Linked DNA regions of Homo sapiens: regions 1 and 3 are each linked to region 2. The links are contacts of gene promoters, found by promoter capture Hi-C in human tissues and cell types (Jung and others, 2019). All regions are on one chromosome and are shown on one strand. Each heading gives the region's core, a stretch centred on a gene start or on the middle of the fragment in contact. The rest is flanking DNA. Distances are from core to core; before and after follow the strand shown. Region 1 overlaps FRAS1 (Fraser extracellular matrix complex subunit 1). Region 2 holds the start of FRAS1 (Fraser extracellular matrix complex subunit 1). Region 3 overlaps FRAS1 (Fraser extracellular matrix complex subunit 1).

Region 1 (3,194 bases), core at 394-2,893, 150 kb after region 2:
CAGCCTGGGCAGCAGAGCAAGACCCCATGTAAAAAAAACAAAAAAAAAACAAAGTATGATTCTTTTTACAGAAAAGCCATACCTAGTTTAGGTCGTACTGAAAAGAGGAAAGTGAATTGTAGTTTTTATACCCATTATATATGTACGTCCATGCTCCAAAAGCACCACATAGAGTTTGCTCTCTTCAGTAGTTAACCCTGGAGGTTGCATGCACTGGTGGGCCCCTTCCCTTCTGGCTTCCTGTTGGGTGTAAGCAATGGAAGACACCACAGGAGACTAGGGGGTGGCAGGAGAATGAGGTAGGGATATTTATTCCTCCAGCTCCCTCCCTCTGTTGGGTGGCTTCCTCTGTCCCCAAAAGACCACAGCTCTTTTGGGTTCTGGAACTGTTCTCCTTTATGTCTGTTCAGACCTGGTGGTGCTAATGGCTATCTCTGTTTGCCTGGGGCTTCCTTTACCCTACCCACACCTCTGTCAATAGTCTATATCTTATACTTTCCTTGGGTCCCCAGTTGGAGTGAGCCATCTATTTTCTGCCCTTTTCTCTGAGGTTTGTGCAGTTCTGTGGTTCTGAGGGCAGATCCTTAAACTGTCAGGATCTCCCTGGCTAACTTATCTATTATTGAAAGGGTCATAGCAGCAGGATCATATTGAAACTGACCTTTGAAAATAACTGCTCTTAATTAAAAGGAGTATTTGATCCCAAGTAAATCGTCAAGGAGGCTAATTTCATTCACCTTCTTTACTGTTGACCTGCCTCTCAAATGAACTGACAAAGCCAGAACAGCCCGTTGACTCTGTGCTCTTTAGCTCCCTGTGCCAGAGTTCCTGCGGTTCTCAGGCTGTGTCCTGTCTGGGGTTCAAATAGCAGAGTTGCCTAAGCTCTTTATCCTTGTTGACCCAGCCTCTGCTGAGCTCCTTACCTGCCTCATCTCTTGCTAGTCCCCTTCATCCTTCATGTGATGGTAGCACACAGCACACTGTGCTATTCCACTTCACACCCCAGGACCTGTGTTCCTGCACTTCCTCTTCCTGGAACAGCTGCTTCTCCCTCCTTCCCCCTTCCCTAGCCCTCACAACTCTCTTTTATTTAATCTATCTAATAGCTTCCAAGACTTAATCTGGGACCACCTCCCAGAAGCCTTTTTCTCCAAAGCTGGGCTGAAGGCCCTGGTCTCTGTGTTCTCATTCTAAGCCACTCATACCTTGGTGATAGCATGAATCACCTTGCATGTAAATTAGCCACTGTGATAAGCTTTGTGTTTAAATGTACTGTTCATTCTCCCAACAGACTCTATCAGGCCTAGGTCTATATCACTTGGAGTCTCAGCACCAAATACAGTGTCTGGTGCATAGTGAGTAGACACATATCTCTTACGAAGGTGCCCTGATTTGTAATAAATGACAGTTATATTTTCGGGCTTTCTTGACTTCCACAGAGTGTCAGCTTTTGCTTTGCCTTCCTCTGCCCCAGGCTTTTCATATCTCAGGGATACTTGCATGCCCTGAGAAGTTGGGGCCATAGGGATGGCTCATGTGTCATTGTCCTGCCCTTGTCTACGAGAAGGATGATACAATTATGGAAAATAGGTTTGCCTGGTATGGCAGCATCTGAGACAGAGAAGGTAAGTGAATTATCTATATCTATACAATCATCACAGAGCAGGGGAATTGTAGGTGTTGGAGCTCCTGGCAGAAATCAATGGTTGTTAGGTTATAAAATCACAGGGCCTGTTAGGTGGCAGTGCCTCCAAAGAAGCAGTAAGCTACTTTCTTCCTGGTTGTGCAATGTGGGGAGTTTATGGGCACCCCATGTCCGCACCCACCAAGGCTTCATTTCCCTTCACTGAGGTGTGAGCATTCTCCTCCTGGTGCGCGTATGGTGTTGGACAGCATGGCCTCCCCATAGGGAAGGATGGTAATTGTTGGCAAAGAAAGGCAGTGTGGATATCTAAGTGCTTAAATTATAGTGAGAAGTTTCATTTGAAAGTAATTGCATGACATAACTAATAAATATTTATAGATGTCGGGGCAAGGGTTATTTCAGAAGGGAGTGGGTTATAGACAGGGAAAGGACATGAAGGAAACTTCTGGGTGTTGATAAGTTTATCTATGGAAACCTGGGTGGTGGTTGCATCACTGTCTAAATGTGTAAAAGTATTGTTGAGCCATGCACTGAAGACAGGCGCACCTATCTACCTTATGGAGAAATGCCATCTTTCGATGTATTTTTAAAAAGAAGTCAACTTGTGAAAGTTTATATACTGTCATTGAAAAAGCAGGGAGGCAGGAGGCTGATTCTGACACCCTAATAGAAGGGGCTATGACTAAAATACTGCCTTTGAACTTATGTGCTCATTGGGCTAACACAGATCCATGGAGAAGGCATGGGGAAAGCCATGTTGTGGCAAGCATTTGTCTGAGCACCTGTACCCTCTAGCTGCCTTCCAAGGGCTCTTCACCTGGACTACCCAGCATGGGCCCAGGGGCTTGGGAAATTGTTTCACTTCATCAAATTTTTCCTTGGACTTGAGCTCAAGTAAAGTTCTGACATTAAGTAATCCCCTCTTTTAAAAAAAATTGTTGTAATATATGTACAGCATAAAATTTGCCATTTTAACTGTGTAATTCAGTGGCATTAATCACATTCATGGTGTTGTGCAACCATCACCATTATATGTTTCTCAATTTTTTAAATAATCCCAAACAGAATCCCTGTAACCATTAAGCAGTAACTTTCCACTCTCCCTCCCTCTGCCTCTGGTAACCCCTCATCTACTTTCTCTCTCTCAAAGTTTGCCTATTGTAGATATTTTAGAAATGGAATCATACAAGATCTGCCATTTTGTGTTTGGCTTATCTCATTTGGTATGTTTTCAAGGTTCATCTGTGTTGTAGCATGTATCAGAACTTCATTTCTTTTTATGACTAATATTCCATTGGATGCATATGTATGTATATATATACACATTCATTCATCTTTCATCTGTTGAAGAAACTTGGGTTGTTTCCACATTTTGGCCATTGTGAATAATTTTGCAGTGAATACTGGCTAAGTAATACTTATAAAAAGTATGTAAAATTTGAAAATTGTCACCTTTGCAAATTCTTGTTTGTCCTTCAAGTCTCATCTAAAATGTTACCTTCTCTGTGGAACCTACTGTGACCTCCTTCCTCTTGCATTCGCTGCATTT
Region 2 (3,095 bases), core at 556-3,055:
GCCTCAGCCTTCAGAGTACCTGGGATTAAAGGCATGTGCCACCACACGTGGCTAATTTTTGTATTTTTAGTGGAAATGGGGTTTCACCATGTTGGCCAGGCTGGTCTCGAACTCCTGACGTCGTGATCTGCCTGCCTTGGCCTCCCAAAGTGCTGGGATTACAGGCGTGAGCCACCGCACAGGCCCTACTTTCTAAATAAAAAGGGAGGGGTCTTTTTTTGGGAGGAGGTTAAGGCCCGCAGCTCCCCTTGATATGGCCGCTGCTCTCAGGCACTTAATCCATTATTTCAACAAATGTTTAAAGAGCACCTACTATGTGCTTCAATTATACAAAGATGATACAACCTCTGTCCCTAGAATGACCACAGCCCAACAGAGAGACTGAGGGCGAAATGTGCAAACCCTGGGTCCTCCAAATACTTAAGATTCAGAGCCAGGTTGTCAGAGGTTCTCCTTTGTTCTGGCTGAATAGTAACACTGACAGGGACCTGCCAGTTTCAAGTTATTCCAGTTATTCGGAAAAGTGAATTGTTCCAAGTGGCGTCAGTGCACGTTAGAACGTGGGCCCGCGTCATGGTGTTCGTGAAGACTGGAAACAAGTGGGACCCCCGCCAGCACAGCTCATGCAACTGCTTCCCCTCCAACAGTTTCGCCCATCCCGACTCAATTGAGGGACCCGAGACGTTTCTTCTCTGGGCCAATCAGAACCCAGTCAGCATCTCTCTGATGCAACTGTTCCCTTATAAAACGATTAAACGTGGACCAGCTATTTTTATTCGGTCCTATAAAAATAGCTGCCGTCAGTCAGTCCTGGCGGGGAATCAAGGCCTCTGCTCTTCAAGTGCGCGCCCCAGTCGGCCGTGTCCTGATGTTACTTTCCCAGCCATTGGCATCTGGGGGCGCAGCTGGACCCACAGCTCCCAGACCGCGTTGTGTTCCACTGACAGAGTCTCCTAGGGAAAGGGAAAGGTGCATTTGCTCTCAGGCTCCGCCTAGGACACACACACCAAGATCTTCCCGGGCTGCTGGTAAAAGCCAGGATGCAACAGCCTGAGGGTCCCAGAGCGAGGAAGAAGGATCAATCAGGTCCCCCGGACGCACTTAGTTCAGCAGGAGTGGCGGGCTGTGGGGGTGGGAGGTAGCCCCAGGGCCTTTGATGTGGGCACACGCTCCCCCAGCCCGCCGAATCGGTTCCTCCCCTAACAAGGGATGTGGACACGGTTCATCTGCCTTCCGGTGTGCCTGAGCAAGAACTGTGCAACCTATCTCCACCCCCTCCGTCCCCGGTATGAGCACTTTTGATTCCTCCCCAGACAAAGCCAATCTGAACTCCAGCAGAATGAATAAAGGGATCAGGTTGCTCTCCCGGCCTCCCCTCACCTCCCTCCTCGCTTCTCCCTTTCCCCACGTGACTCTCTGGAATTTCGCCAAAGCTCCGAGTCTCTGGGTCCATTTTCACACCGAGCAAAGCAGAGAGGAAGGAGGCAAGGGAGACTAGAGGAAGGCTGAACGTGTGTCCTTTAAACACGGGGTCCAGACCCGGCGTATTTTGGGCGTTTCCAGGCTCTCTCGCCAGAGTGGCCTTGAGTTTGGGGGTCTTTTCCAGCCTCGCTAGCTTTTTCCTCCGTGCAATTAAAATTATGGCTCTTCTTCCACTCCCGTAATCATTGCACCTCTACCCTGCAGACCTCCTCCGGGGTGTTCAGCGCGGAGGTGGGTGTTGGTGTGCAGCAAGCCGCGTCCCCGCAGCCCTCCTCACCCAGGCGAGGGGCGGGGACGAGAAAGTAGCAGCAGCGCCCCCCAGTCTTTCCTCTGAAGCTTCCGAACAGTCTGCTTCAGGGAGCGCAGCCTGAGGCGGTGTGGTGCGGTGCGGCTGCAGGGCGGGCGAGTCCCCGGAGCTGCCCTCAGCGCTGCACAGTTTCCAGCGAGCGGACCCCGGCAGATGAGGTCTGCCGAGCCGGGTGGCTCGACCAAGGAGTGGGTGTGGGTGGGTCTTTCGGGGCTCCCGGCGACCCGCGGTGCCGACGCAACGCCGACGTATGGTGCCAAGCGAACTTTAAAAAGCTGCTTCGGACAAACCAGAGCCAGGATTTCCACTGTCGGGGACCCGGGATCGGAAGGGTCTAGCCCGAGGGAAATGCTGGAAGATCCCATCGGCCAGTGACCAGCAACTTTCCGGCGAGATTTTGACGCGGAGAACTGTGCTCTGCCTCCTCTTATTCTCCCAAAGCTCACGTTGGCGTCCTGCCTTGCGGGGGAACTCGGCGCGCTCTCTGCCTGAGCAGCGAGTGAATTGAACCCCAGCCCGCTCCGGCGCCTCCGGGCTGATGAGTGTCGCTCTCCGCCCGTCCATCTCTTTTTCCCGGAGGTAAAGGCCCGCGGTCCCCCACCTTCAGTGCGCCCGGGTTCCAAGCGCCGGAGCCAGCGTTTTGGCGGAGCCGCTTCTTGGATGCTGAAGGCTGGGCTCCTCCATCGTGGGTGCCGAGGCGGCGATGGGTGTCCTCAAAGTGTGGCTCGGGCTGGCCCTAGCGTTGGCGGAATTTGCAGTATTGCCTCATCATTCCGAAGGTGAGAGAGCGGTGCCGCGTGTGTGTGTGTGTGTGCGTGTGCGTGTGTGTGTGTATGTGTGAGTGATCGTGCAGTTTAAAAATCTCAGCAGGTTTTATGGTATTTCGGTGAGGTGGAAGTTTTTCTGGGAAGGGTGAGGTGGAAGTGAAACTGGAATAGGCTTTTTCTGATAAGATTCCTACTCCTGATTGTTTTGTATTCGGATTACACCCCCGAAACGGCCTCCCTCTCTGCCCTAAGTGCTTTTGGGTGGGTGGGTGGCCGATGGAGGTGACATCTCTGAAACTGATCCTTTTTCTTTCCACCACCTACCTTTCCCCGAAGGGAAAGCAACTGCATGGAGCACAGGTGAGGAGCGAACAATTGCTCTTACCTGTTTAAAAATACTTCTGTTCCTAAGAAACATACAGTCTTTCATCTTAAAGCCCCATCGCTCTCCCGCCCTCCTTACCTCAGTTAGTCTCCCCCTAAAGTCCAGTTAGGATTTTATAACTAACTGGTTGGAGCGTGTTCTGGTCGTGGGCAGT
Region 3 (3,341 bases), core at 1-2,500, 210 kb after region 2:
TGTGTCCTTTGGGGGAATCAAAAGTTTTATAATGTTTGCAAAGTTACATAAAGATATGAAGGCTCTGCTTCCTAGGAAGAAGGGTTGAGGTGCAAGGGACCCTGCCCATCGTGGGTCGGGCCAGAGAAAGAGCCATGTAGAGCTTTGGTATTTTGGGTCCTCCTGCCTCTGTTGGCTTGGGTGTTTCACCGTCTCCTGAGGACTGCCCCTCACCTTCCTCTCTGTGTCCTAGGGTCAGAGCAGGGCTCGGCGTCATGGGCAATGCTGTGAGGAATGTGTGTCTCCTGCCGGGAGCTGCTCCTATGATGGAGTTGTGCGGTACCAGGACGAAATGTGGAAGGGCTCGGCCTGTGAGTTCTGCATGTGTGATCATGGCCAAGTGACCTGCCAGACTGGAGAGTGTGCCAAAGTGGAGTGTGCCCGGGTAAGAAGCAGGGGCATTTCCATTTGGAACGTTGCAGCTCTTTCCAACGGGATAGTGAGGGGTCCTGCCTGTTCTTTACTTCTTGGCAGCAGCAGGGATGTCCACATTGACTTCTCACACTTCATAGGACCTTCTAGTGTAAAGCTTCCGTGGTATAAAATGAATGTCACTGTTTGTTCAGACTAGCTCAGAACAGCCCCCTGGATCTTTTAGCTCTCAGTACATCTGGTCAAATTGGAAGCCCCGAGCCAGAGACATGAAAGGGAAGGACATGATATGGGACATTAGCCTATCAGGCAGCGCAGCTGGATCTCATTGCTGATGGCCTGCCCAGTTCTCCCCGGCTGTGAAACAGGGTCCACAGGTGTGCTGGTGGCCGGGCTCTTGCTGTAGGCCCCACTGACAGCATTTAGCAGAACGAGAGCCAGCACAGAGGGGCCGCTTCCGTGGATCAGGAAAAAACATAACATGCTTTTTGTTTTTAAGAGAGAGCAAAGGGGACCTTATAAACAATTAACTCCATTGACCTCTGTTAACCTCTGCTGTCTGCAGAATTTCTAGAAGCTTCTAACAAAGCAGCCTCTGTTTGGACTATAGATGTACTGTATGTTGGAGGGAAATGACTTTTTTTTTCCTCTTTGAACTTGATTTTGACCCATTACAAAACAAATTGCTTTTAAAGTTGTCTCCGTCTCTCTCACTGCTCCCTTCCGCCCCACCAATTTCCCTGTGGGCCGTGAACTTGAGTAGATGAGGGAAATTAGAAAGATCTGGAGCCCTGGGTTTCTGTGAAGGTATTTTTCTTTCTAGTTCTTCTCCCCCACTTCTCAGCTCCTCTTAACCCTGAGCCTAAGGAGGAACAACCTTTCAGACATGGCTGTCATCGGCAGGGTTATTTTTCAACTTGCCTCCTACTTGTAGGTCTTGACAGAGTTGAGACATATTTAGGTAAAGAGGGTCTTGCTTTTTGCAGATTTATTTCCCCTTAGATGCCTTTTCATTTATTTTCTTTATGTTAGAGGAATCAGGGTGATTGGATGAAGATGAGAAGAAAACCTAATCAGGGCCCTTTTTTGTTGTCTCTGTCGGGCTGAGGCTGGGCTTCCCTGCCTCGGCAGTCTGCCCAGAGGATCTCATTTTATTAAGGACTTAATTTATCTAACATCCTAGAATTTATGAAAAAATGTGGGAGAGGAGATTCTGGTAGGGTGGGCCCTTTAACCACCTAATTTCAGTCAGATCTGAACAAAGAGTCTCAGTCACAGAAAATTGTTTAGCACATATCCCTAGCATTTCTGCATTTCCATGTGCCTGTCTGCTGCTGTCGGCTGTGACACCTGGCTATCATGGCATGAGCCAGGCATTCTTGGCTATTCTTAGGGAATATGGGGATTAGCTGCCAAAGTGGAGAGCACTTCAGTATTCAAGTCACCCCATAACACCGTCTCATTCCTTTCTAGTTACTTCCACTCCACTGCCATCTTTTCTTTTATGAATTGAGGAGTTCTGATGCCTCACCTATTTCTCCAGATCTTTAACCAGCTAAATTGTTTTCTTCCATATTACTTCCATGTTTCCCAAGTTTTGTTTAAAGCCCTGGGTTCTAAACTAGAAACTCTACCAGAATTGAAATTTTAACCAACATTGACTCTGATGAAACATATCTCTTAGCCTTCTTTATATGCCATACTTCTGTTGACCTTGTTAAAGCCTGGATGTACTAACTTCCTAACTTCGGCTTAGCTTGTATCCCTGGTGATAAAAAGATGAATAAGGCTCGTTATGACCTTAAGAGTTTCCAGGCTTTTTGGGAAGTCAGATATGTAAGCAAAAATTATAACACAGTGTGGCACCAATGGAAATATGAGTTAAATATATTAGGAGCTCCCGGAGGAAATGACTATGTCTGCCAAGGGGCACAGTGGAAGTGCCCTTTTGATATTTTTATTCAGTTCTACCCCACTTTCTGCCTGCCTCCTTCTCTAAAATATCAAGGTCATTTTGATTTCTGATCTTGGATACCAAGGATGGATTAAGTGTAAGTGCAATGCACATCAGAAAGCCACAGAGAAGTTAATTTTTAAAAGAAGAGGCAAAGGTGTGCAGCTTCATCGTTGTCTTCATTATCACACTGGTTATCAACAGCAATGTTCTGAATAGCATTAAAATCAGCATACAGTTTTTGTTGTTGTTAAAAAAGAAGAAAATGGCCTGGTCTTTGTCTTTGCTATATTCCACCAAATCTCTAAACATTGAAACATAAACAAATCAATGATAGGCTAGCACAATATAATGATTTTCATATTTCTAGATTTAATGATGTCTTTGAACCTTAATTCAGGTGAAGAAGTCAAATTACCTTTTGAAGAAGAGGACCTAGCATTCACATCTGGAGCATAAAATGGAATGGGGAAAATTGAAGCTTGGAGCAAAATGCATAGGAGAGGGTAGGCGCGTGGTAAATGTGAGCTGCCATTCCCTGCTCCAGTGGAGGCAGTTTCCCTCAAAAGAGTGTTTCCTTTTCCAATGAGCAAGTTAGCCCAGTCTTAGTCGTTGGTCTGGTGGCTGTAGGTATGATTAGGTGGGGAAAGGGTAGAGATTCTGTCTGGCCTATGCAACAGAATCCTCTTAAAAAGGAAAGAATTTGTTTGTTTCTGAAAGCAATTTTAGTCAAAAGTCAAATACTAATTGGAGTGAACTCCCCACTGCAGTGAACTGATGTGGTTTGGGGCATTGAGGCTGCTTCTGTAAATAGAAAAGCTATTTGAAACTTCCCACCTCACCAAAACTGAATCCTTGTGCCCCAGGAGCAGCGCTTGCTGTTACTTACAATGATGTTTGAAGGTCAACAGCCTTTCTGTTGCACAGGCCTTACTGTTTCTATACCTTCCCTACCTAATCATACCTACATCCACCA

The links. Contacts are between HindIII fragments. The study calls those that stand out against the background at their distance.
Region 1: a fragment that was not itself captured here is called in contact with the fragment with the promoter of FRAS1 in region 2 in 2 of the 25 tissues and cell types used here (H1 embryonic stem cells and mesendoderm cells).
Region 3: a contact is called between a fragment that was not itself captured here and the fragment with the promoter of FRAS1 in region 2, in 3 of the 25 tissues and cell types used here (mesendoderm cells, pancreas and thymus).

The regions. Positions count from the first base shown.
Region 1 is chr4:78,209,114-78,212,307 of GRCh38, forward strand. The region is part of intron 2 of FRAS1 (Fraser extracellular matrix complex subunit 1); the gene reads left to right. Among named protein-coding and RNA genes, the nearest start is that of SNORD161, 78 kb to the right of the region's middle. The HindIII fragment of the contact is 8,399 bases long and covers 1-3,194 here.
Region 2 is chr4:78,055,518-78,058,612 of GRCh38, forward strand. It overlaps FRAS1 (Fraser extracellular matrix complex subunit 1), which reads left to right and starts at 1,806. Exons shown (of 74, transcript NM_025074.7): 1 at 1,806-2,568. The coding sequence starts at 2,493. RefSeq lists an enhancer at 392-1,363. The HindIII fragment of the contact is 7,312 bases long and covers 1-3,095 here.
Region 3 is chr4:78,267,009-78,270,349 of GRCh38, forward strand. It overlaps FRAS1 (Fraser extracellular matrix complex subunit 1), which reads left to right. Exons shown (of 74, transcript NM_025074.7): 9 at 233-424. Among named protein-coding and RNA genes, the nearest start is that of SNORD161, 20 kb to the right of the region's middle. The HindIII fragment of the contact is 3,828 bases long and covers 1-3,164 here.